Linked DNA regions of Homo sapiens: regions 2, 3, 4, 5, 6 and 7 are each linked to region 1. Evidence: promoter capture Hi-C in 16 types of primary human blood cells and fetal thymus (Javierre and others, 2016). All regions are on one chromosome and are shown on one strand. The core of a region is centred on a gene start or on the middle of the fragment in contact, and the rest is flanking DNA. Distances in the headings are between cores, read along the strand shown. Region 1 holds the start of AP3M1 (adaptor related protein complex 3 subunit mu 1). Region 2 overlaps KAT6B (lysine acetyltransferase 6B). Region 3 overlaps KAT6B (lysine acetyltransferase 6B). Region 4 overlaps KAT6B (lysine acetyltransferase 6B). Region 5 overlaps SAMD8 (sterile alpha motif domain containing 8). Region 6 overlaps KAT6B (lysine acetyltransferase 6B). Region 7 overlaps DUSP29 (dual specificity phosphatase 29).

The links. Contacts are between HindIII fragments. The CHiCAGO score rates a contact against its expected background, and 5 or more counts as called.
Region 2: a fragment that was not itself captured here is called in contact with the fragment with the promoter of AP3M1 in region 1 in 1 of 17 cell types (fetal thymus); the score reaches 7.5 in fetal thymus.
Region 3: a fragment that was not itself captured here is called in contact with the fragment with the promoter of AP3M1 in region 1 in 1 of 17 cell types (fetal thymus); the score reaches 5.9 in fetal thymus.
Region 4: a contact is called between a fragment that was not itself captured here and the fragment with the promoter of AP3M1 in region 1, in 2 of 17 cell types (fetal thymus and total B cells). The highest score is 5.7, in fetal thymus.
Region 5: a contact is called between a fragment that was not itself captured here and the fragment with the promoter of AP3M1 in region 1, in 4 of 17 cell types (total CD8 T cells, naive CD8 T cells, naive CD4 T cells and 1 more). The highest score is 5.6, in total CD8 T cells.
Region 6: a fragment that was not itself captured here is called in contact with the fragment with the promoter of AP3M1 in region 1 in 1 of 17 cell types (endothelial precursors); the score reaches 5.1 in endothelial precursors.
Region 7: a fragment that was not itself captured here is called in contact with the fragment with the promoter of AP3M1 in region 1 in 3 of 17 cell types (fetal thymus, M0 macrophages and M1 macrophages); the score reaches 5.7 in fetal thymus.

Annotation. Positions count from the first base shown.
Region 1 is chr10:74,148,582-74,152,080 of GRCh38, reverse strand. AP3M1 (adaptor related protein complex 3 subunit mu 1) reads left to right here and starts at 1,253. Exons shown (of 9, transcript NM_012095.6): 1 at 1,253-1,326. ADK (adenosine kinase) reads right to left here and starts at 860. Exons shown (of 11, transcript NM_006721.4): 1 at 738-860. The coding sequence starts at 802. RefSeq lists enhancers at 510-689, 1,100-1,329. The HindIII fragment of the contact is 5,595 bases long and covers 1-1,564 here.
Region 2 is chr10:74,978,780-74,982,747 of GRCh38, reverse strand. KAT6B (lysine acetyltransferase 6B) reads right to left here. Exons shown (of 18, transcript NM_012330.4): 10 at 3,409-3,524; 11 at 820-961. Among named protein-coding and RNA genes, the nearest start is that of SNORD172, 41 kb to the left of the region's middle. RefSeq lists an enhancer at 145-194. The HindIII fragment of the contact is 634 bases long and covers 954-1,587 here.
Region 3 is chr10:75,031,887-75,035,886 of GRCh38, reverse strand. It overlaps KAT6B (lysine acetyltransferase 6B), which reads right to left. Exons shown (of 18, transcript NM_012330.4): 18 at 3,263-4,000. Among named protein-coding and RNA genes, the nearest start is that of SNORD172, 12 kb to the right of the region's middle. RefSeq lists an enhancer at 2,593-2,642. The HindIII fragment of the contact is 2,306 bases long and covers 1,546-3,851 here.
Region 4 is chr10:74,999,430-75,002,979 of GRCh38, reverse strand. The region is part of intron 13 of KAT6B (lysine acetyltransferase 6B); the gene reads right to left. Among named protein-coding and RNA genes, the nearest start is that of SNORD172, 21 kb to the left of the region's middle. The HindIII fragment of the contact is 1,444 bases long and covers 1,318-2,761 here.
Region 5 is chr10:75,140,178-75,143,894 of GRCh38, reverse strand. All of the region lies in intron 1 of SAMD8 (sterile alpha motif domain containing 8), which reads right to left. Among named protein-coding and RNA genes, the nearest start is that of SAMD8, 30 kb to the right of the region's middle. RefSeq lists an enhancer at 1,709-2,208. The HindIII fragment of the contact is 3,092 bases long and covers 123-3,214 here.
Region 6 is chr10:74,921,252-74,924,751 of GRCh38, reverse strand. All of the region lies in intron 3 of KAT6B (lysine acetyltransferase 6B), which reads right to left. Among named protein-coding and RNA genes, the nearest start is that of KAT6B, 96 kb to the right of the region's middle. The HindIII fragment of the contact is 2,579 bases long and covers 274-2,852 here.
Region 7 is chr10:75,049,270-75,053,172 of GRCh38, reverse strand. The region is part of intron 2 of DUSP29 (dual specificity phosphatase 29); the gene reads left to right. Among named protein-coding and RNA genes, the nearest start is that of DUSP29, 22 kb to the left of the region's middle. The HindIII fragment of the contact is 5,055 bases long and covers 1-3,903 here.

The DNA of each region.
Region 1 (3,499 bases), core at 4-2,503:
ATTTCCAAATCATCAAAGACTGCCTGCTTCACTTTATACTTATTAGGAAGGGATATTTTAACAAATGACTCTTCATAAGTAAAAGTTGCAACATCAATCACATGTGAGGCAGGTGTTAGGGGCAGCACTGTCCCCGTTGCTGCCAAAAAGTGTAAATAAAAAAGAGAAATCAACCTTTCCTATCCATTCATCCAAATGCTGCCCCTGCAAAGCATCGGAGGGGTCTGGGTCCCTGGTAGAGGGTCCTCAAAGGTACGGGCTTTCAGAATGTGCACGAAAAGGAAGGTCAACGTGCCCTTCCGCAACACTCTGAAAAATCCCCAAGAATTCTGACTTTGCCCCAGTGTACAGCAGTTGCCGAGCCTCTTTCCCGCCATCCCCCGGGAAGAGAAGGCGGCCGCCTACAGACGCTGCTCCGGTCCGACCCTCCGGGGTCGCACCAGCCCAGCCTGGGCTTGCTCGCAGGTGGCGCGGTCAGCCAGCTCGGTCCCCCTGCGGGCCACGACTGGCGAAGGGCTGCTGGAGCCGGAGCTGCACCAGACAGGCGGGGACTCAGCCAAACGGAGAGAACGTCTGGCAAGGGGTCGCGGCCAAGCGGGCAGCTGGGGGAGGTCCTGCGTGTTGGCCCCAAGCTGGCAGTGAGAGACACCACCCAGCGTCGGGGCCGTGCAACCCCACGTGGGCCCTGGCTTGCTTGCAGCGCCGTCACCCTCCTCCCCAAGTCCGGCAGCGCTCACCTCAGCGCTTGCGGCGCCTCCACCTTCAGCTTTTTGGGCTTCGGCTCCTCCTCAGCAGCTGCCATCTTCGCGCTCCCACCCCACTTTGGCTCTACAGCCCACCTCTGCCATCCACTCTCTGGTCCCGCCCCCTCTTCGCATCACCGCTTTCTCTTCTCCAAATCCCGCCCCTCCAGACTCCGCCCATTCTGTGCCGCTGTCATCCACAATCATTGGCTCTATCCGTCGGCACCAACAGCGAATGCCCCGCCCATTCCTGACCCCGCCTCCCCTACCATGAGGGACCCCAGACTGCGTTAGGCAGCAGATGACCGCCTGAATCTAGATGGAGAGAAACCCACCATTTTTCTAGGCCCTGGATTATGTAGAAGATTTAGATACTAAGCCTCAAGAGACGTCTTTCCTCTCATTTACGGTCTTCCTGCATATTTAAAATTTCTAATACGGTAGACAGAGTCGGTGTCTTTGAAGCTGTTAATCAGGCAATTTCCTGGGCACTCCAGCTGCGGGTCCTCGCGGCCTTCTCGGCTTCTCCAGCTTCGGTAGGAGAGGATCCGGCGCCGAATCACTGACTGGCACAGGTGTTGGGGTGAGTGTGAGGGGCGGGAAATCTGTGGACTGGGGACAGCTCCAAAACCCGGGAGTAGGCTGAATAGCTGGGGCCCCCGACTCCGATCTGGGCTCTAGGAGCGTCTTTGGTGCTGTTGGCCCGGGCCTCGCTTCCCCCCCACTCCCGGCCTTCCGGGCTTTCTCGCCAGCAAGGCCAGAAGGGAGCGGTCCACCTGCAGCCCAGTGTTCTCAGGCGCCTGAGCCCCGGAGGTCAAGCTTACTGGGTTCCCCCTCTATAGTGAGCTGGAGTACAGACGGCAGGAATCTCAGTCCCAGGTTTCTGCTTTGGAGGACAAAACCCCAAACGGACCTGAGCAGACGTCCTGTTAGCGGGTGGTGCCTGGAAGAGCCTGGGGTGAGGAATGCAGTGAGAAGGGTGTTGCAGTTCTTCAGGAGAGAGGTAACGGGGTTCTAAGCTGAGCAGGTGGCAGTGAGTGTGGAAGAGTGACGGGCGATGTGGCTGTTTGTATTTGGTAGATTTGTTTGAACCTGAAACTTACAGCCTTATGTGTGATTAAGAAGATGGTGCCAGTGACAGGAGGAGGTATTTTATGGAGTTTGAGTTTTATCGAATTTGAAACAGTGGTTTACATGGAGATTGTAGAAAGACTTTAAAAAAAATTATGAGAATTAAGCCCGAAAGACTTTCAAGGTGAGACCCAAAACAGATGAAGTTTCATATAAAAGGGTAAGAAGTATTTTTGTTTAGGAGAAAGTTATCAATGACATAAAATGCTGCAATGGTCAGAGGAGGAAGCTGAAATCAGAATAGGTCGTTGGATTTTATAATTAGAAAGTCATTGAGCTGTTTGAGAGAGATGCTTTAATAGTAACTGAGGAAAGACTGCAAGTGTAGACCAATCCTTCATCATTTGGGGCATGAAGCAAGATTATTGAGAGTGGCAAGGTGGGGGAAAGTTTGGGGTTTGTTTTAAAGAATACAAGATATCTATTTGGGGGCAGGAAGCAAGCAACTATTTGAAGATTCAAGAAAAAGTCTTGTCTCCCAGAAGAGAAGGAAAGGAATGGGATCAAGTTACAAGTGAAAGGATTAATTTGGGAAAGACAGAGGGACACTTTCAATTGACACTATAGGAGAAGTGAAGTGAATGAGGTTAATGAAGAATTATCTTAATTTACGAATCTTGGCCAGGCGCGGTGGCTCACGCCTGTAATCTCAGCACTTTGGCAGGCTGAAGCGGGCGGATCACAAAGTCAGGAGTTCGAGACCAACCTGGCCAACATAGTGAAACCCTGTCTCTACTAAAAATACAAAAATTAGCCAGGTGTGGTGGCACACGCCTGTAGTCCCAGCTACTTGGTAGGCTGAGGCAGGAGAATCCCTTGAACCCGGGAGGCGGAAGTTGCAGTAAGCTGAGACCTCACCACTGCACTCCACCCTGAGCGACAGAGCGAGACTCTGCCTCGAAAAAAAAAAAAAAAAAAAAAAAAAAAAAAAAAAAAAAACCTTACGTATCTTTAGGAAAGCTCTCTTTGCAACAAGATTATATTTTCTTACTTAATCTTATGATTTTTATTTCTAACCATTTAATATAATATACGGCCAGGCACGGTAGGGCTCATGCCTGTAATCCCAGCACTTTGAGAGGCTGAGGTGGGTGGATCACGAGGTCAAGAGATCGAGACCATCCTGGCAAATATGGAGAAACCCCGTCACTACTAAAAATATAAAAATTATCTGGGCGTGGTGGCACGTGCCTGTAGTCCCAGCTACTCGGGAGGTTGAGGCAGGAGAATCGCTTGAACCCAGGAAGCGGAGGTTGTGGTAAGCTGAGATTGCGCCACTGCACTCCAGCCTGGCAATAGAGTAAGACTCCGTCTCAAAAAAAAAAAAAACAAACCAATATACTATGGGCAGATGGAGTGCGGTGGCTCACGCCTGTAATCCTAGCACTTTGGGTGGGTGAGGCGGGAAAATCACTTGAGGCCAGGAGCTGGAAATCAGCCTGGGCAACATAGCGAGACTCCATCTCTACAAAAAATTTAAACATTAGCCAGGCTTTGTGGCATGTGGTTGTAGTCCTAGCTACTCAGGAGGTAGAGGCAGAATGAGGCAGAAGGATCACTTGAGCCCAGGAGTTCAAAGTTACAGTGAGCTATGATTGGTCCACTGCACTTCAGCCTGGGCAACA
Region 2 (3,968 bases), core at 21-2,520, 830 kb before region 1:
TGGGTCACAGAGGAGAAAATGCAGCAGACAACAGAAGTGTGCAAGTGGAGGGAAGAGCATAAAGGAGAAACGTGAAAAGCCCTGCAGACAGACAGTAACCTGTGAGAAAGGCATGGTCTCCTCAAGGTGAAACTGACTCAGCTTAACGGAATCCCTGAAACTGACAACAGATACATAATTAAACAATGCAACTATATAGAGGCAAAGGCCTGCTACGAAATCAATTCTGGAAATACAAAATGTCTTCAAGAAACCCACAATGACAGACATATGGCCACAAGGGGTTCCTGTGAACAGCAGAGTTCTTCAGGGGTGGCCATCTACCCAGATGGGAGGGAGTCCCAACATCTGCTAGGGTCTCACCAAAAGGATTATCCACACTGCCAAGAAGTGGATGGAAACACAGGTGGTTGTGTATTGAGGAGATATGTACAGCTGCTCAATTCCCTGGAAGAGTGAGCACCTGCCAGACATTGGCTGGAGCTGCTGAACAAAGCTCATTTCTCCTGCCAAAGAAAGTAGAATTTACAAAGAGCTGAGGAGATCATAAATTCATGGTGAATATATCTAGTGTAGACAGGGATTTTGGGGAAGACAAAAATGTTAATGTGATGAAGTAGGGATTCTTCATCAGTCTAAATGGTTGCTTAATATGGTTAGATAAACATTCCAAAACATGGAGATGTTTTAAAGGGCAGTCTGAATTTCAGTGCCAAAATTAAGTATACTTTGTACCTTCTAAACACAAATCAGCACATAGTCAACAATTAGGAGTACTAGATTTCAAAAAGCTGAATTTTTTTATTTACACGCGCTTACCTCAAATACTGAAAGGTCTTTCCTTCGGTAAATTTCATTTGCTGGAGGATGAAACCATCCACACTTCTTGGAGTGTCTTAGCAAAATATTTTTACTTTTCATATATTTAAGACAGAATTCACACAGGTAAAGCTTTGGTAATCTGTTAAAGTTTAAAAATCATAGAATCTATCAGATAGATTATACTGTTGGGGGGAAGATTAAATATTGTTCAATTTTCTCTACATCATAAAAAGGCTGTATAATAACATTGGAGGCTGGGTGCAGTGGCTCACACCTGTAATTCCAGCACTTTGGGAGGCTAAGGCAGGCAGATCACCTGAGATCAGGAGTTTGAGACCAGCCTGGCCAACATGGTGAAACCTCATCACTACTAAAAATGCAAAAATTAGCTGGGCGTGGTGGCACATGCCTGTGGTCCCAGCTATTTGGGAGGCTGAGGCAGGAAGATCGCTTAAGCCCATGAGGCGGAGGTTGCAGTGAATCGAGATTGCACCACTGCGCTCCAGCCTGGGCAACAGAGTGAGACACCGTCAAAAAAATAAAGAAAGAAAGGAAAGAAAGGAAAGAAAGGAAAGAAAGGAAGAAAGGAAGGAAGGAAGGAAGGAAGGAAGGAAGGAAGAAAGAAAGAAAGAAAGCCAGCCAATAGTAAAGACAGAATGTAAAAACAACCATACATTATTTTTTAATATAATCCATAATATGTGCTCCCTTTACTTTGTGAACAAATAATTTGTTTCCTTAAAAATATCCTATATAAAGAAAGCTTTACAGATGTGGAACCACCACCCTAAAAAATCAACTTAATAAGGATATCATCCTGTCAAGGGACCAAGCATATTTTTCAAAATTCACATTTACTATCTTATTTCCAATTATATATGGTTAGTGGTATAGATATAATATCTTACTCAGAAGTGAATTTATTATTTTAAACAATCTGCATACATATGAGGCTGAAAAGTCCTCAAACTTAGTTGTTACCATTTCCACCTCTGGAAGAGGTAACTTTAAAGTTATTATCAGAGATTTATATATGGTCTAAATGCAGTAAATAGCACGGCTGAAAATCAAAAGACCTAATTTGTTTTCTACCAATTCCACTGTTACTTTGAGTAAAAGACAAACACCTCTCTTCCCTGCTGACTTTTTCTCCACCTTAAAAATCAGAACATTTTTTATTTCCATATCTTAATGAACATGGCTGGTATTTATAAGAAAATGTTTAGAAGCACTTGCAAGGTCTTTGGAGTATAAGAATGGGGAAAAAGGTTTTCAAGAGAGAGGCAGACACAGGTGAGACTACTTTCAAATCTTGCACTTATGTACAAATTTTATTCAAATCTTTCAGAGCACATGGCTTATCATTACCTATGCAAATTAAAGCTCATAGTCTTTTAAAATTGTTCAAGAACACACAACCAAATGGTATAAGGAAGGAGAAACCAAAATTCTTGACTCTTATTTTGTCACTTAACTTTTAGAAAACACTTAGCATTTTCTCCAGTTACGTGATTGGCCAGACACTCACATGCTAACGAAAAAAAATAAGATCTATTCTATAAGAAAATCAAGTTTATAAATACTGAAAACTTTGCAGACTAAAAAATTTTTGAAGATACTAGTAAAGTGTACCCTGACATACTTTATGGAAGACATCTATTCTCAATGTACCCATTTTGGGATATATTCGTTCACAGGCTAATCTTGAGTTCAAGACAAACAAAAACTTGGATACCATTATTTTCTCCTTTTTATTTTTTATTTTTTGAGATGGGATCTTGGTCTGTCACCTGAGCTGGAGTGCAGTAGTGCAATCTCGGCTTACTGCAACCTCCACCTCCTGGGTTCCAGTGATTCTCCTGCCTCAGCCTCCCGAGTAGCTGGGATTACAGGCATGTCCTATCACGTCTGGCTAATTTTTGTATTTTTAGTAGAGATGGGGTTTTGCCATGTTGGCCAGGCTGGTCTTGCACACCTAACCTCAGGTGATCCACCCACCTTGGCCTCCCAAAGTGATGGGATTACAGGAGTGAGTCACCGGGCCTGGCCTTCTCTTCAAAGTCACAAATGTTCTAAAGTAAAAATTTGGGGAAGGGTCTCTTAAGACTACCCATTCCCACTTACTTTCTCCCATTTTTCCTTCTTTTGCTAAATTTCTATTAAAAACTTGAAAATAAAATGCCAGAAATCAGAGATAAAAGTAACAGGCCTAATTAAAAAATATAAAAGACAACTGGAGAAGAAAGTCTACCCAATAATTCACCATGGCAAATTTCTTTTTTTTTTTTTAATTTGGTTTCATACAAAACCAACATTTCCCCAATTAACCAAGGAAAGAAAGCACAATCTAGAAGCTAAATGGCAAAATTTATAATGCCCATGTAACTAAGGAGCATAAGGAATTTACCGAGAACAAGGAATACCATAAAAAGGTGCTGGCAAAAGCAATAGTTTGGGAAGCACTTGGCATTGACTACCAAAATTTATTTCCTAAAATCATCCCTAATTCCTGCTTTAGAATCAAGAATTTTCCTTTCTCACATATGTGACATTCAAGTTATACACCTGCCAGACTTATTCCATTACCTTGCATATTCCTGTGGGTAAGGCGAGGAGTACCAGGTTTGGATTTCATATTTACCAAATTCAATCACAGAAGGGTACCGGCCACAGTCTTCCACCCCACTCTCACACTCTATTTTCTGTCAAATAGAAAGAAAAGGAAAATAATAATATATATACTTCACTTACATTTTGGTTCTTTCACCAGTGACTATCAAAACTTATCAAGATCAGAACACTAATCTTAATTGTGAATTTGCATGGCCTTAAAACACTATAGACCCTTATGAAATAGGTTGGTGCAAAAGTAATTACTGTTTTTATAATTTTTTCAATGGCAAAAACCACAATTACTTTTGCACCAACCTAACATTACCTTTGTGTAAGATTCACAGCAAACGAATACCCTAAGAAACAATATAGCAAAGGAAATAAGTATGGTATAAATACATACAAATGTCGATAGAACTGGATTTAACAATCTGTTGTAACAGATTAGAAATTAGGTGATTATAAATGATGTGGCTATTACACAGGCTTATTTATTACAGAAGCTTACAGTTTCCTATTCCTCCACGAAGTAG
Region 3 (4,000 bases), core at 1,449-3,948, 880 kb before region 1:
GGTGCATTGTTGGTGTTTCCTGAGCACCCCACACCTTCCTCATGCTCTCATCTCTTTGTGGGACTCTGGGTCCTGCTGAAGGCAACAGAAGCTGAGAATGGCAAAGTTGCGGTTCTGGTCTCTTCTACATGACTCCTGGGAGCCAGAAGCAGGAGAAAGGAGGAACAGAAGTTTTTGCAAAAGTGTTTCAAGTCTTCAGAAATAAGATATGAAATATTTGTTTGGTCACCAAGTGTCTATTGAGAACCTACCACATGCCAAAACCTGGGTTAGGGGCCAACAGGAAAAATGAAAATGCACATTGTGATAGAGCACAATGCAGGAAATAGGCATGGAGGCAGAGAAAAGTGGGGAAAGGGGAGAAACCCTCTTTAGGCGGGGTGGTCAAGGAAGACCTCTCTTAGACTTGAAGGCACAAACCTTCCAAATGTGCCGGAGCATTCGAGGCTGAGGAACTGCCCATCAGTAAGGCTGGAGCTGGTGGCTGAGAGTGGGAGTGGAAGGAGAGGGGCAGAGGGACTTGATTCTATTCCAGGTACACAGAAGATTCACTGAAGGGTTTTAAGCCGGGGAATGGTATGATCTGTTTCAAGATCACTCTGGAAAGATCCTTTGGCTGAAGTATGGAGAACAGGTTGTAGGGAGTTAAGAAGCGAGGCAAGAGCAGTTAGGAGGCTGTTGACAGGAAAGGAAATGGGCTGGACTGACAGCACCAGGGGATTAGTATTCAAGATTATTTTGGAATTAACCCAGAAAACGGACGGGACCTCCCGAGATGGGGAGGGAAATGAGGGCTAACTGATCGAGGTTTCTCGGCAGTGCTTTAACACTGAGATGGGATGGACCAGAGCAGGAACGGAGGAGCGGTCGGAAATCACCAGTTCGGTTGTCATGCAGATGTACAAAAGGTGTCCCAGGTCATTTGACGTGGCATCTAAAGCTCAGAGGAATATTCACAACTGGGGATGTAATTCCGGGTGTCACCTGCAGAGAGGTGGAATTTGAAGTCATCATACTAGATGAGATGATGAGAGAAAACAGAGAGAACACTCCCGGCCTGAGTGTTGCAGAACATCAATGTTTATAGGTAAGCCTGGGTGGAGGAGGAAGGTCCAGGAAAGGGGATGGAGAAGGTAGAAGGAACGATGGAAACCTGGGTACAGAGAAATGGAAGGTGCTGCTTCATAATGTAACAGTACGTGTACTTTGAGTATCGAAGATTGATTGTAGACCAAGGCTTGCTCGCAGCCACAAAGGGATCTGTATTTATATAGCACTTAACAGTTTTTACAGCAACATGTATTCATTAGCCAAGCCTTTAAATCAGAGAGGTGACAAATTAGGGCCTTTCAGAATACAGTGTCCTAGAAAAAAAGAGCTGGGATTTGGAAAGACCTGGGTTTGTTTCAGCTCACACATTTTAGCTGGGTGAGTTTGGGTAATTAATGTAGCTTAATCTGAGCCTCAACATCCTGATCTGTACATTGGAAAGAATGGCCCCATTTCCTGCACAGGGTGGGTGTGTGGGAGGAGTTTGTGAAAGCTTTGTGACGATATTGTGAGTCATTACTTCTAAAATAGAATGTTGGTGAGGAAGGTGGATGCCCTCCCACCTGGCGTAGGCACCACTTGCAACTATTAAAACGTGAGGCTGGCAACTGACCACCACTTGGTACGACTCTTACAAATAATAGAACACAGTTAGGGTTTAAATGATGTGGCCTGTTAATGAATCTCAATCGAATGAATTCAGCTTTGATGAATCCAAGTTCCTGTTTCGCCAAATCCTTGGCGTCACATTCAGATGTGAACTGATTTCTCTAGTGAGAGTGGGTGAGGTGGAGGGCAGGGTGTTCTGAGGCCATCTCAGATCAGCAGTTTCCTTCCTATGCTAAGCCTTTCTGTTCCATCAAGGAATGTTGGGACTGGGGCCAGCACGGAAGCTCCTAGTCCTAGCTATGCTGCAGTCCTTAAGGAGCCTGGGCAACCGAGGTGTCCCTGGGACTGTTCTAAGATTAGGGTTTGGCAGGTCTGGGGCAATGATTGGGACTCTTCCACAAGCTCCTTTAGAGGGCTGTTAGGCTGGCAGGGTATGGGAACTCAGACATCGCACAAACCACAAGGTGTGATTAGCAGGTCATGGCCAAAGGGAACACAGAGGGGAATCTCAGCCCCCAGAGAATCTTAACCCAAGAGGAAAGAGACAAAATATGTGACAGGTCGGAGCCCGTTCGGGGCTCTGCTTCCCGATCAGATTGCTTCCAGGCCCCAACCCCACCTCCAGGGCTCGGGCAGCCTCTTGCCCGATGTGTGGCCCACTGGGCTGCCCAGTCCTTGGCCACTCCTGAATGGACGCAGTGTTCGATTTGTGCAGGCATAGACCACCACTTCCTACTCTGAGGATGGCTGATAGGTTTCTTTTCCTATTAGCACAGCAGCTTAAATGGATCTTTTCCCTTTGTGCTGACGGCCCTTCAGACGTGTCTTCTTGAAAGCCCTCCCTCAGCTGTTACATATATTACCCCCATTGACTTTGCAGTTGAGGAAGGAAGGGACTAAAAGATAAAATTGTGACACTAAACCCAATACACTTTGTAACTGTGAAAGAAAATAACGATAAGGGTGAGAGTACAAGGCAGAACTCCACTGGGCACCCTCTGTCTGCACAAGGCCTTTTATTCTGGTGTGTACGCTCTATCCTGCCCTTGCACGATTTTGGGTCCACTTTAAGGCTTATGTCTATGCTTTGTAAAACATCTAATTTTTGTGTGTGTGTGTTGAATCAACAGTGCAAAAGCAACTTTTTTCCTCCACAGGGTAGTGACCTGCTTAACAGAGGAGTTGCGAGCACACGTGTTCAGACACCTGGAGAGCTTAACGGGCTAGTTTCACACGGGTGCTAGGTCAAGCATTCATTTCTAGACTTGTTGCTCAAATAACCAAATTCAAGCAACACTCAGAACTTTCTCTGAACGCTATACTTGTGAATATTCACTTTTGGCAGGGGGTCTAAACTTTAGACTCTAAAGAAAACATACAATTAATCATTCACAACAGAGCAAAACGTTCACACTTTTTAAAAAGAAAATGATTTTTCAAACATACAATCCCAAATTGGGTGCTTTTTTTGGTATGAATCTTTATAAAAAGGAAGTTTGCTACCCTGGTGCGAGGCTTGGAGGGATGTTTCTACAGACTGTGCGAGTGAGGCAGCTGGATATTTGTGCGGGATCTCTTTGCAAATGAAGATCAAAGTCCAAAAGAAAAAAACAATTTCACTTTATTTTAAAGACAATGATTGGCATACAGAAGGTATGCACTCGCATAAAATAAACTTTCATGAAAAGCATTAAAATCCATTATAAATTAATTTATTAAATAGGTATTTGGTATATGTGATGGTTTTATTAGATATTACTCTTATTTATTGCCAACCCCTCCCCCAAAGTCAAAACAAATCAGAAAATCCCATAACTCCAATTTACACTAAATAATTTATTTTCCCAAAATGTGTATGTGTTCTGAGGCGTGACACATGATACAGTTCCATTGGTCATTCTCTATCAATCATAATATGACAGGACACAAGAGGCTAAAAATGGCTCATCATAATTTATTTTATGTTAAAATGTACAGCTTTTTTTTGTTTGTTTTTTGTTTTTTTGAAGTGACTGACTAAAAAGAGAACAGATAAATACAAGAGTGTCGCTGGATCCTATTTTATACAAGGATTACGCCTCTCCTGCTTGGCCCTTACTGTCACCCTGTACAGGTACAAAGGCTACAAAAAAGGAAGCAATATAAACAGACACAAATAACTTTTTTGCTTTTTTACATGCGATTTGTAAGCTTAGTTTGAGCTATTCACAAGCTACTTTTCTATTTTTCCTTAAAAAATAACTCCAATATTTTATAAAGATAGAAAAATCTACAGATGGAATGAAAATGTAAAGTTAGAGGCATTTCCATAAAATAGCAACTTTACACCAAATTCACTATT
Region 4 (3,550 bases), core at 790-3,289, 850 kb before region 1:
GCACATTTTAAAAGTTCTTCCCGTCATAATTAATTTAACATTTGTTCAACAATTAATAAGAACCTACTAAGCGCCAGGCTCTTCTAGAAGATCAGAATGCAGCAAAGAGCAAAGTCCACACTCTCATGAAGCTTACTTTTGGTGAAAGACATGGGCAATCAACAATAAATACAGTCATGCACCACATAATGATGTTTAGGTCAACGATGGACCACATATTCAATGGTAGTCCCATAAGATTATAACAGCATATTTTTACTGTACCTTTTCTATATTTAGATATGTTTAGATACAAAAATACCATTATGTTACAACCACTAACACCTACGGTATCCAGTACAGTAACTGCTGTCCAGGTTGGTCACCTAGGAGCAATCAGCTATGCCACATAGCCTAGGTGTGTAGTAACCTATAGACTTCGACTTAGGTCTGTCTAAGTACATACACTATGATGTTCACACGACAATGAAGTTGCCTAATGGTGCATTTCTCAAAATGAATCTCAGTTTTTAAATGATAAATGACTGTATATAAAAGACCTATGCAAGTTTATAAATGACTCTGCACTTGCTTAGCCTAGTTTGTTGTTGTTTTTTTTTTTTGGTTAGTGCCACTAAAAAGAGAGAGAGAGAGAAAACTAAATAACACAAGTCCCTAAGAGATGCTGTCATGGTCCCTCCAAACACATTTCTGAGGCTTGTTTGTGGGGCCTGTAAGTGGGGAAAGTGGAATATTTACTCTGCAGCCTCCCCCAGACAGACTTTATGATTCAAGTGAGTGCTTCATGATCTCCCTCATCATGTATATGACAGAATTTACACAGCTCCTGAGGCTGCTAGAGGTGAGGTGACAGGCACTGGAGCTCTGGACACCCAGGAGCAAAGGGAGCAATATCTCTGCTACCCATACCCATCCTCAGGTCCTGTCTTGGGAGGCACAGCCCTAAGCTGACCACACGGTGCAGAGACGGCCAGAGACCCTTGCTGGAGAGCACAGTTTCTCACCAGGGCCTTGAGGCTGGGATGCAGCTCCTGAGGGTAAGCCATGTGCCCTGATACTGTGCTCACCCTGCCCTCTGGGAGAAGCCGGTGGCTCCTGCACAGCCCTGGTTCCAGGGGGCGTAATACAGTCAGGTGAAACGGCTTACTGGAATCCAACCAACTGGACTTCTAAATGAAAACTCCTGTTTTCCAGAGGAGATAGGCCAGTGGGTATCAAACATTTATTTCAAGAAGGCAATTTTCAGGTAGGATGAAACCACTTAGTCTCTACTTAAAAACACTCTTAAGTTTCACTTAAATTGTATTTTGAAAAGCTTGTAAGTGGAAGCTCTTTTAAACAAAATAGCCCACTGAAGGCAGACTGTGAAAACTAGTAGTAGCTGGCAACCTGAACTACTATGACACGTACTTCTGTATTTAGCCATCATATAATACAACATTTAAACCAGTAGCTTGCATCTAAGATTCTGGGAAGAAGCAGCTTTCTCTCTGAGAGAGTGGATATGATTAGCCTCCTGACATGATACCCCCCTGGGTAGAAATGAAGTATGTGGCTTTCTTCCTAATTCGCTTTATGGACTTAAAAGGGCAGAGAAGCAGGGAGCAGGAAACCAAAGAGAAGATGCTTTTCTCTTCCAATGCGGTGCTTCCTCAAGAAATCAGCCAAGAACTATTCAGAGGCTAAAGGAGAAACAAGCCCGGGGATCTCTACGGACGTGGGTGGTTGTGGCACCTAAAGAAGAAATCTCTGTCATTAAACCAGAGGAGGAAAGAACGACGGTGCAGAAAACCACACTGATTAATACTCAAGTGAGAAAGGAACTAAGGTACTAAATCATACCCTAAAGCATCTTTCCTCAAAAGTTTATTGTAGTTCCTGCTTTCCTTAAATCCGGTTGGCTGTATATGTGTGTGGGGGGCAGGGGTGGAGGGGAGTATCATTTCTAAAAAAGGGGACATGTAGAAGGACGCTGCAAACCACACTGAAGACAAGAGCCAAATTCATAACCTGGAGGCACAAAACTGGGCCATTTGCACCATCTTCTAGCAGCGCTGATTAATTATAGACTCAGTTTTTAAATAGCACACGGACCTCACAAAAGCTAAGGTGAAACCCTCAACATATGAAGAGCCAGCAAAGGGAATTCCCCGAAGTGAATGCCTAATTCATTCAATCACTTCTGCTTCCTATAGTTACAGCCTTGTTCCATGAAGGACTGCCCAATATTTTAATACTGAATAAAGAAAGCCAAAAATTGAAACTGCTGACACATTTTTATGATTATTCCACAAACATACTAATTTTAGAAATGCCTGAATGTACAATTAACTGATATTTAACTTAACTGACGAACTTGCCATTAATTAATATTAATGGCAAGTTTATCTGGTCTCTAAAAACTATAGACGTAAGTCTGTAGACTTGGATCCAGCTGTCCTTTACCCTTTATAGCGTTAGTTACACGTCCGTCTGCCCCCGATAAAAAAGAAAAAGTTAATCTGAGATTTAGAACCCTTATAGTTCTAGTTAGTAGGTTTAAGTATTTTAGTTAGGAGAGAATGTTGAATTTCATCAAATGCCAGATCAGACTTTGTAATAAACCACCTGCCTGGATGTTGCTTTTTGTTTTCCCCTCGATTTTTTCCATCAGCGCTGCTCTTTCTTTTCCCTACTGATGTACATACACATGCTCCAGGCTCTCCAGCTTAAAAATAAAGACAACTAGGTTCCTGTGTCCCCAGCCCTTGACAGTCAAGCTTTTGTTTTGTTTTGTTTTGCTTTGTTTTAAAAAAAGAAAAAAAAAAAAAGACAGAGTCTTGCTCTGTCGCCCAGGCTGGAGTGCAGTGGGGTGATCTCAGCTCACTGCAACCTCTGCTTCCCAGGTTCAAGTGATTCTCCTATCTCAGCCTCTTGAGTAGCTGGGACTACAGGCACATGCCACCACATCCATATTTTTGTATTTTTAGTAGAAATGGGGTTTCACCATGTTGGCCAGGCTGGTCTTGAACTCCTGACCTCAAGTGGTCCACCTACCTCAGACTCCCAAAGTGCTGGGATTACAGGCGTGAGACGCTACGCCCAACCAAACAGAATAAAACAGTCAAAAGCTTTTTGAATCTACTTTTAATCGCACTTAATATACAGTTGTCCAAAGAATACTTCTTATGACTTTCTCTCTGGGGCACTGAATCTCTGGGGGATGATCTTAGACAAGTCTCTTAGTGTCTCGTCCCAGAAGAGAGATGGTCACAGTAACCTACCCCATAGGGTCTCCGTGAGGACTAAGTGAGTAAATGTGTGTAATTCCGGTAACAGTGCCTGACACATAGCAAGGGCTCTAGAAGTGGCAGCTATGATGATTATTGTGACTGTTACTGTTGAAATACTGACCTCTTCTGGTTTTCCTAACACCATTATCTCCCAATTTTCTTCTGACTTCTGGGCCCTTTGCAAATTTCCTTGGCGAGCTCCTCATTCTTTATTAGTCCCTTAGATGTTAACACTCCAAGCACTCCACCCTCAGCCCTGTTTCCCTATACACTTCCCC
Region 5 (3,717 bases), core at 419-2,918, 990 kb before region 1:
AGGTGGAACAACATCAAACAGCTTCCAAAAGACAAGAGAGAACAGAAAAAATATTTGAAGTAACAATGGCCAAAAATTTTCCAAATTTGGTGAAAACCATAAACATGTGTATCCAAGAAGCTTAACAAACTCCAAAAATAAGAAACAAGAAGAAAGCTATACCAAGGCATACCAAAATCAAATTACTTAAAAACAGTGACAATGAGAAAATCTTAAAAGCAAAAAGAGAAAACAGACACATTAGGAACAAAGGTAAGAATGATAAGAGATTTCTTACTGGGCTCAAGCCAAGCTAGAATACAGTGAAACAACATAAAGTACTGAAAGAAAAAAAAAACAACAACCTAAAACCGTAGGCCCAGTGAAATATCATTCACAAGCAAAGGCAAATACTTGTTCAGACACACAAAAGCTGATTTCATCACCAGCAGACATGCACTACAAAAATTTAAGGTCCTTCAAGCAGAAAGAAAATGTTACCATACCAAAATATGAATCTACACAAAGAAATGAACACCAAAATGGTAGCCACATGCATAAATATATACATTTTTTCTTACTATTTAAGTTAGTTAGTTTATTTATTTATGAGACAGAGTCTCACTCTATCACCCAGCCTGGAGTGCAGTGGCATGACCTAGGCTCACTGCAACCTCTGCCTCTGGGTTCAAGAGATTCTCCTGCCTCAGCCTCCCCAGTAGCTGGGATTATGGGCCCGTGCCACTGCACCAGGCTAATTTTTGTATTTTTAGTAAAGACGAGATTTCACCATGTTGGCCAGGCTGGTCTTGATCTCCTGACCTTGTGATCCACCCGCCTCGGCCTCCCAAAGTGCTGGGATTACAGGCGTGAGCCACCGCGCCCAGCCGCAGTACCAGCTTTTAACTTTGCTTGTTGTAAGGAAGCACAGAAAGTTTTTAATAGCCAACAATGCACTTATAAGGCCATGATAAACACTCAAATCAAGAATTATTACATTGTGGGAAAAGGAAGAGGATGCTGTCCTCATTCATTTGTCCTTCAGGATAGAAGGATATTCATTTGTATTGATGTTTTGTTTGGTTTTTCAAGACTCCTGACCTCAGGTAATCTGCCTGCCTCGGCCTCCCAAAGTGATGGGAGGCACTGCACCCGGCCTTAAGTTTCTTTAAAAGATAATTTAGGCCGGGTGGTGGCTCATGCCTGTAATCCCAGCACTTTGGGAGGCCGAGGCGGGCGGATCACATGGTCAAGAGATCGAGACCATCCTGGCCAACATGGTGAAACCCCGTCTCTACTAAAAATACAAAAATTAGCTGGGCGTGGTGGCACGCGCCTATAGTCCCAGCTACTCAGGAGGCTGAGGCAGAAGAATCGCTTGAACCTGGGAAGCGGAGGTTGCAGTGAGCCAAGATCGTGCCACTGCACTCCAGCCTGGTGGCAGAACAAGACTTCGTCTCAAAAAAAAGATAATTTACTGTTTAAACAAAAAGCAATGTACTGTGGGATTTATAACATATGTAAAACATATGTTAACAATAGCACAAAGGTTGGGAGAAATGGAAATCCACTAATATCAGCTAAAATAATACCACCAAGAAGCTAAAGAGAAAATTAAACCCAAAGCAGAAGGAAATAATAATGATGAGGGCAGAAATCAATAACAAAGGCTGGGCATGTTGGCTCATGCCTGTAATCCCAGCACTTTGGGAAGCTGAGACAGGCGGATCACCTCAGGTCAGGAGTTTAAGACCAGCCTGGCTAACATGGTGAAACCCCATCTCTACTAAAAATACAAAAATTAGCCAGGCATGGTGGTGGGTGCCTGCAATCCCAGGTACTCAGAAGGCTGAGGCAGGAGAATTGCTTGAACCCAGAAGGTGGAGGCTGCAGTGAGCCACCTGGGCAACAGAGTGAGACTCTTTCTCAAAAACAAAAATAAAAATAAAATTTTTTTAAAAAGCAAGTGTAAGGAAAAAAAAAAGATGCAAGGCAAGACCGTCACTCTCACCACTTCTACAAAACATCAGAAGTTCTGGTCAGTGTAATAAGATAAAAAAAAGAAGCAAAAGGCAGGCCAGGCGTGGTGGCTCACGCCTGTAATCCCAGCACTTTGGGAGGCTGAGGCAGGTGGATCATGAGGTCAGGAGATCGAGACCATCCTGGCTAACACGGTGAAACCCTGTCTCTAATAAAAATACAAAAAATTAGCCGGGCATGGTGGCAGGCACCTGTAGTCCCAGCTACTCGGGAGGCTGAGGCAGGAGAATGGCGTGAACCCGGGAGACGGAGCTTGCAGTGAGCGGAGATCGCACCACTGAACTCCAGCCTGGGAGACAGAGTGAGACTCCATCTCGAGGAAAAAAAAAAAAAAAAAGTAAAAGGCATACAGATTAAAAAGGAAGAAATAAAACTCTATTTGCTGACAACTTGATTATTTATGTTGAAAATTCAATAGACTATACCAAAAACAGTTACTAGAATAAGTCAGTTTAGCAAGATTGCCACATATAGTATCGACAAACAAAAATCAATTGTCTTCCTTTCTTTTTTTTTTTTTTTGAGACAGGGTGTCACTCTGTCACCCAGGTTGGAGTGCAGTGGCACGATCTCGGCTCACTGCAACCTCCACCTCCCAGGCTCAAGCCATTCTCCCACTTCAGCCTTCCAAGTAGCTGGGACCACAGGTGCATGCGCACCACACTTGGCACACTTGGCTAATTTTTAATATTTTTGGTAGAAACAGGGTTTTGCTATGTTGCCCAGACCCATCTCGAACTCCTGAGCTCAGGAGATTCACCTGCCTCAGCCTCCCAAAGTGTGGGATTACAGGCGTGAGCTATCACACCCAGCCATCAATTGTATTTCCATATACTAGCAACAAACAATCAAAAATTAAAATGTATAAAATACCATTTATAATAGCATAAAAAATATTAAATACTCAGGGATAAATCTGACAAAACATGGGCAAGACCTATATGCTGAAAACAACAAAAAACACTGCTAAGACGAACACCTAAAAATGAGAAATGAGTAGGTCAGAAGAATCAATACTGTTAAGAGGACAATTTTCCCCAAACTTATCTGCACATTCAACCCAATTCCAATCAAAATCCCAACGGGCCTTTAATTTTGTAGATATTGATACATTTCATAAACAGCTGATTTAAACACTTATTATACAACTACCTGTATTTGTTTTCTATTGCTTTGTAACAAATTACCGTAAGCTTACCGACCACTCGAATTCTTTACTGCATGGCCTCCTCTTTTCCCAAAAATCAGCAGCTTCTTCTGTGTTGAATTCCCTTCCCTTGTACTTGGATTATTTCTCCAGGAAAAGCCCAGTCCCTTTTAAGGGTTTGTCTGATTAGATCAGGTCCACTGAGGATAATCTCCCTTTCTTAGTCACCATGGGAGTGATATCCCATGATTAGGTGGGATTACAGGTCCCTCCCATTATACAAAAGCATAGGTCATTAGGAGTCATTTTAGAATTCTGTATCTTGACAGGGCGGGGTGGCTCAAGCCTGTAATCCCAGTACTTTGGGAGGCAGAGGCGGGTGGATCACTTGGGGTTAGGAGTTCGAGACCAGCCTGGCCAATATGGCAAAACCCTGTCTCTACTAAAAACACAAAAATTAGCCCGGCTTGGTGGTGCTTGCCTGTAGTCCCAGCTAATCAGGAGGCTAAGGCAGGAGAATTGCTTGAACCCGGGGACTTCTGCCTATCTCA
Region 6 (3,500 bases), core at 314-2,813, 770 kb before region 1:
AGGAATGTCCAATCAGCATAGTAGGAAGTAAGTAACAGAATTTCTAATTTTACAAAGTTAGTCAATTTCATGGTTAAGAAGTGCTGTTTTGATGGTAACCTTTACATTTTTACAACCCAACTATGAGTATTAAGTAGGGAAGATCCAACTAAGATAGTTATTTCAGGGGTAACGTCCCTTTCTCTCAAAGTTAAAACTCTTAATATAATTCACTTGGCTTGTAACATGGTATTTAGTCATTCTCATTCTTTGAATTGTTGCCTAATGCAAGCTTTCATTTGGATACACCACTCCCGTTGATGTTTATAGGACTGCCTTGCTATTAACCTCTAACCCAATTAGTCACCAAACTGACAGCATGCATTGCTATTTGGAAGCCAACTGCTTATGAAGGAATTTTTTTTTAGAATCTGAACAAAATGAGCCGTATTATGGCCACTTTATTTATAGTTTTTAACGAAGTATTCCAGGATATCTACAGTGACAAACTCAGGGTAAAAGCAAATCAGGTCCTTTGTGTGCACTGGGCCAGGGAGTGAGGGCTATTTTAAATAAAAATATGTTTTAAAAATTTAAAGGTGTAATCCACCTTCTACCATGGCCATCTCTCCCCTTTACTTCTGTTACCTCTGTTTATCTCAGTGATAGATAACTCCATCCTTCCAGTTATTCAGGCCAATAACCTTGAAGTCTTCTCTTTTTCTAACACTCTGCATCAAGTTCATCAACAAATTCTGCGGGCTCTACTTCAAAATACATCCAGAATCTGTCCTCTTCTCACACTCTCCACCATTACCACTGGCCTAAACCATCATATCTCTTGCTTGTTTTGTGGCAATACCCTCCCAGCTGCCACCTTGGTGCCGCCTACAGCTTATTCTCAACACAGCAGCAGGAAACAGCTTGTTAAAACGTTAAGTCAAATCATGTGCCTCCTCTGTTCAAAACCCTGCAAAGGCATCCATCACTCTCAGCAAAGCCAGAGGCCTGACCTGTGCTGAGACCTTCCTCCCATCTGCTCTCACCTCTTACTACTTGACGACTCTCCCCTCTCTCTCCACGCCAGCCACACTGGCCTCTTATCTGTTTCTCAGACATGTCAAGGGCTCTTTGCACTTGCTGTTCCCTCCATCTAGAACACTCCTTCTCCATGCCTGGAATGCTCCCTCACTTCCCTCAGAAGTCAAGTTAAATGTCACTTTCTTAGAGAGGTCTTTCCTCATCAAACTATTTAAAAAAGCAATGCCTCCCCATCCCATCACTCCTTAATTCCCTTACTCTGCTTTATTTTTCTCCATAGCATTTCTCACAGCTGACATGCTATATACTCACTTACATTATTTGTCTCTTCCCATTAGGATGTAAATGAATTTCATGAGGGCAGAGACTTGTCTGTTTTGCTCCCTGCTGTGTCCCCAGTGCCTACAACAGTGCCTGACATACACCAGGTGCTCAAGAAATAGTGGCTGAATTAATGAATAAATAAATGAATGAATACTAGACTTCCTCCCTTCTACTTCTCCTACTCCTTTTCTATACTACTTCTAATAATAGAATTGTTTGCCCATGACTCATTGATAAAGTTGTCTTGCATTTACTTCTCTAAGATCTATTTCAAACTAACTTATCCTGAGCCCACACCCAATAAATAAACAAGAACTTAAGAAACCAGCTTACTTACCTTCTAACTAAACATTAGGTGCTTGAATCTTTCCAATAACCTCTACCTGTTTCTAAGGGCCTATAATTTCTTCTGCCACAGTGTATAATTCAGCCAGTGTTTCTCAATCCTCAGGCATTCCCAGACCATCCACGGCAATTTTGCTTCATCTGTGTATCACCTGTGCTATTATTTTCTTAACAAGTTTTAAACCTGGCTCACTTTTATTCTTTAAAAAAAAATATGACTACAGAAATGAAGTGTTTGTTCATGAACCACCACTGGAGGTTACATATACCAAACTCTGGATTCACTTGAGCCAAAAAGTTTACCATGGGGCCTGTAATACCTTTAGGATGTAAAACAAACACACATACATACACACACATCCTTTTGCTTAACGCTATGTAAGTTAAAAACTGAAGTCACATTAGAATCAGATCATCTATGGACTCAAAATATATCATGAAGAAATGTCTAAATTCCTAGTCAGATTAATTCAGGCCATCAACACTAAGTTCCTAAAGAAAAAACCTGCCCAATTATCTGCTGGGTCCTTTGTAAAATATTACCTGCTAAAATGCTCTGGTAAAGAGCACACTGGTATGCTTTTCTAGAAAAGTTCTTTTTTTCTGATCACTATTCCATCTACCTAGCCATCTTTCTTCTTTTTTTCCTTTCTTTTAGGAGAGGATTGGTTGGGATGAAGGGCTCCTGGAGGGCACTTCCTAAATTTGACAGGTTTCTTTATAACAGCAATTTTGCAGTTGTTTTCTAGAGCTTTATCAAATTTGACTTCTAAAGCTCACTTTTCTACTTTAGAGAATGATATTAAGAATCCCTGATTAAGGACAATAATCTTCACAAACTAAAAAGCCATCCTTATATTCAAACATGCTTTAAAATGTGAGCAGTATTCTAAACTTGCTGCAGACAACCCATACAATCACATGAGTTATTTTAAGAAAAAGACTCAGTTAGACACATCTACAGAAGCTAATACTAACGTGCTGTTCTTCCAATGAAAAGGTTACTGACCTATCAGTAGGAGTTGTCTTTTCTGGCAGAGATGACAGATTTGCCTTGTCTTATCTCCACCCCCTGCTGTGTCCCCATAATGAGCCATAGCTACATGTGCAAGACAGCTGGCAAGGGGGAGTCAGGGTCTGTGGCCATGGGCCAGAGCAAAGCTTACCAGTCAACCCAGAGCCTGGACCTATGACCGATGTCTCATTAACACCTTGCTCTAAGCAACTGAGCTGTCACAAAAATCAACAGTGGCTTAAGCATTTTGTTTACAAGTGAAACAAATCAGGTCAATCTGACAACCAATAGTTCAAGCAGCCACTAGAAAATTGCCAAAAGGACACAAAAACCAATAGTAAGCAGGAGTGATAAGGGTCTTGCAGTCCTAGCTTGGGAGGTAGCCACACAAGCAAGGATGAGTATGGAAGGGAATGAGACTGTAATAGGCAGGTCTGTTTCTAACATACCAGGCAGTCAATGCATGTTAATTAAAGATAAAAAGAAGAAAGGTATAGCTACAACCCCCTTAGTGATGTCCTTCTTACTCAGTGGTTAGAACAAATGCCTTGATAGATGCCCAAAAAACAGCAAGGGACAGTTCACACTCAGGAGCTACAAGTTTAAAAACATCTATACTTTAAAAATATTTAGAGGCCAGGCACGGTGGCTCATGCCTATAATCCCAGCACTTTGGGAGTTCAAGGCAGGCGGATCACCTGAGGTCAGGAGTTCCAGACCGGCCTGGCCAACATGATAAAATCTTGTCTCTACTAAAAATACAAAATTAGCTGGGCGTGGTGGCAGGCATCTGTAA
Region 7 (3,903 bases), core at 391-2,890, 900 kb before region 1:
CTGTGCTAGTCTAATAGCTCACCCCAACATCTTGGTGGCCGGCCACAGCAATGATTCTTTCTCACTCACAATGCAGTCCATGGTGGGCCAGCTCTGCTGCGCTCCCGGCCACTTTACTCTAGGACCCAGGGTGATAGAGCAGCCCTGATTTGAGATCTTGCCAGCCTTGCAGCAGAGAGAAAAGAGAGACCTAGCAAACCATAAGCTGATTTAGAAGTGACACATGCCATTTTTGCCCACATTTCACTGGCAAAAGCAAGTCCACGCCAAAGCCTCATGTCAGTGGGGCAGGAAAGTATAACTAGCGCAGCCAGAGGGGCTGCAAACGTTCTAACAATAATGCCATCTGGCACAGCCTCCTGGTCAGGTGCATTGGCTTTGGGCAGGTTATTTTACCTTTTCCTCAACTTGAAGAATAGTTGGCCAGGCGTGGTGGCTCACGCCTGTAATCTCAACACTTTGGGAGGCCGAGGCAGGTGGCTCGCTTGAAGTCACAAGTTCGAGACCAGCCTGGCCAACATGGCAAAACCCCGCCTCTACTAAAAATACAAAAATTAGCCGGGGATGGCCGGGCGCGTTGGCTCACGCCTGTAATCCCAGCACTTTGGGAGGCCGAGGCAGGCGGATTACGAGGTCAGGAGATTGAGACCATCCTGGCTAACACGGTGAAATGCTGTCTCCACTAAAAATACAAAAAAATTAGCCTGGCATGGTGGCGGGCTCCTGTAATCCCAGCTACTCGGGAGGCCGAGGTAGGAGAATGGCGTGAACCCGGGAGGCGGAGGTTGCAGTGAGCCGAGATCGCGCCACTGCACTCCAGCCTGGTGACAAAGCGAAACTCCGTCTCAAGAAAAAAAAAAAAAAAAAAAAAAGTAGACAAATGCAAATATTATAGTTAACAAAAAAGAAATCTGGAAAGGTAGGTCAGGGCCAGCTCATGGAAGGGTGAATGACGGCCAAGGGACTTTATTCAGAAAACCATTGAGTGTCTGAGCAGAACTGACGTGTTCTAGTTAATCGAGTGCTAGACAATAAAATATGCTTGCCTCCTTGATGTTTGACCTTGAACTTGCTTCTTTCAACCAAGAAAATGGAAAATGTCACTGCCCTTTTAATTCAATCCAACTGTGCCTAATCGAGCCCCAATACAAGCACACACAGGTGTGTGAGACTTTACACCCCCAGCTGAGGGAGGGAGCCTCAAGTCAGCATGGTGTGTGCTTGTCCCTGATTTCTGTGACACTCACTTAACAAGGTTAATGAGACTCACAGACGCTTATTGCAAGAGCAATTAACTCTACCGCCAATGCAGCCATGCAAAGGTTATAAGCTGGGCTGTGAACAGGCAAGGCTGCCTGTGTTTCTTGGTCTCTTTGCAGGGGTTGCCCAAAGCAGCCAAAAGCTCCAAGCTGGTTCCTCATGCACAAAGCCTCAGTTTTAATTTGATATTTACATTTCGGTTAGGTTTTTCCTTTCCCTAAAAGCACCTAAGATTTTTGAAAGCCCAGTACCAAGGCTCTGGAAGTGAAGGAGGTCAGGACCCAGGAGTAAGGATGGATGTCCTGGGATGGCCAAAGCTACTATCTATCCTTGGAGCCCAGGCCAGTGACTGTGGGGCCTGCAGCGGGGCATACTTACCTCTAAGATGAAGCTCACTCTTTTCCTTGCTCCTTTTTGTGGAGATAGGTGGAGCGGCCAAGCATCTGCTCTGGGTCCACAGTGTCTGGACTGAACACTGGTTTCTGTGTGGCCTTGGGCAAGTCACTCAGGCTTTGTGACTTTCAGCTTCTTCGCCTATGTGGATTCTATGCGTTAATGCAAGCAAAACATGTCTCACGGTGCCCAGTACATTCATCAAGTTTGAACTATGACAAATCAGGCAGGTTCTGGAAATTCGATTCACAGTGTATGAGGAAGGTAAAGCACAGTCACTGTGCCTTGCCACCCAGGGTCCCCCATGCTAGGGGAAGCCTTGGGAGAGAAAACAACCCTGGGTCAGATTTCTCCCATGAGAATTCTATCATGACCCAGGGCAGAGTGTTGGAAGGAGGGCCTGCTCTCCTAGGCCTTCCAGGGAGGTGACCTAAGGCCTAAGAAGGCAGCCATATCAAAGTTCCTTGGGCCTGCGGGTTTCAAAATCGCTAAAGCATTTTCTCCATCCCAGGTTAGCTCAAGGGGATTCACCAAGTGGGCTGCCTGGTAATTCCAAGTCCTCACTGCTCAGCAGCCCAGGGAAGGGGAAAGGTGGCCCTGCCAGTGCAGCCTGATGAGAAAAGGCCACAAACAGGAGGGCAACGTGGAGGGTGCTCACTCTGCCGGCTCAGCAGAGGGGTCGAAGGGGTGGGGCCTGGCTGGCCACCTTGCAGATATTCCTGGGGTTCGGGGGAAGTCTTCTTCACACAAGGTGTAGCCACCCACTCCCCACTCATTCCTCTAACTCGATAGGGGTCTGAATCTGCCACAAGTGGAACTGCAGGCTCAGCGTGGAGCGGAGGGCTCAGGCATGACTCGGCACAGCGTCCCAGTCCCCACTGTGTGTGGGTGGCCACCAACTATGGGTGGCCTTTGGCAAAGCATTTTATTGTTCTGGGACTCAGTTTCTTTATTTGTAAAATAAAGGATGATTTCGAAGGTTCCCTTCCAGCTCTAAAATAAAATTATTTAAGAAATGGCCTATTAAATGAATTAGGCTTTATTAGTTTCAAGCACACACTTGTTTTATTACTTTTAAGTCATTCAAATTAGATTCAAATTAGGTTAACCAAGTGTTGTCCTCCAGAGAGCCAGGGACTGGCGTCAATGATGAGATAAGAATAATTCATCACCTCTTATCAATCAGCAGTCCCTAAATGGGTGCTTCAAAAATGCTTGAGTACGCTCGAAAGCACTAAGTTTCTGTAATTTAAATATTCTCACTTTAATCTCGTTCACATCTTTCATTTGCTTAGCAAAATCTTTTTTCAGTCCTTTTTTTCCCTATAGTCAGCAGGAGGGGAAATATCCTGGCTACCATCAAAGTGATTGCAAATTCCTAGGCAGGGCAGCCTCCAGTGATAAGGCTTGGCTGAAACGGGATAATTGAGAAATCTCTCTTCCCTCTCCACAATGCGGGTGTCGGAGAGCCAGTGCCAGGGTGAGGTTAAACTTCTGCTGCTCATGGAATGGTGCGGGCCCTCAGGAGCTCCTTATTTTTGTGTAAACTACAGTTGCCTCCAAGGTCCGGCATTTGGGCTCAGATTCCTGCCAAGGCCTGCAGCCTGCCCCACCCACCCAGCCCAAGCTGGCTTTCCAGGGAACCTCTGTCTTGTCCTTTCTGCTTTTCTGCTTCTGACCAGACCCACAGCCTCAGAAGCCAGAGGCATCGCCACAGCTGGCCTGGCGTTGAGAGCCTGGGAAGTGAAGTGAAGGCAAGTCAGTCAGCTGAGACAGCTCCTTCTCCCCGAAAAGGAGGAACTAATTCCGCCTTAAGGCACCGAGCACGAATGAAATTAACCTGCTTCTTCGAGGTGTGGGTGGTGTGGCCAGTTTAGGATGCAGCAAAAAACAGTCAAGGTTGCGAATTTAACATGCTGGGCGTTACCTGAAATAACTAGGACTTCCAACTACTGAAGGCAACTGAGGCATAGCTGGGCAGCAGTCACAGGCAAGACGGTCGGGGAGAGAAGCCTGAGGCCCTGGCCTGGCCTGGCCTTCTCATTGCCAGAACACGGCTTAGCAGTCAAGGCCTCAAGCAACATAAACCATCTCCTTGCATGGTTAGGCAAATGCCGAGTCCAATCACTCACACGACATCATTTCTCAAAACCAGACCTCCTGGGTACTCTCTTCTCTTCACCTCCATCCTTGGAGGAATAGAGTTTGGGAGAGTGGGGCAGACAGGAGATTTCCAGTAGAAGTTAAAAA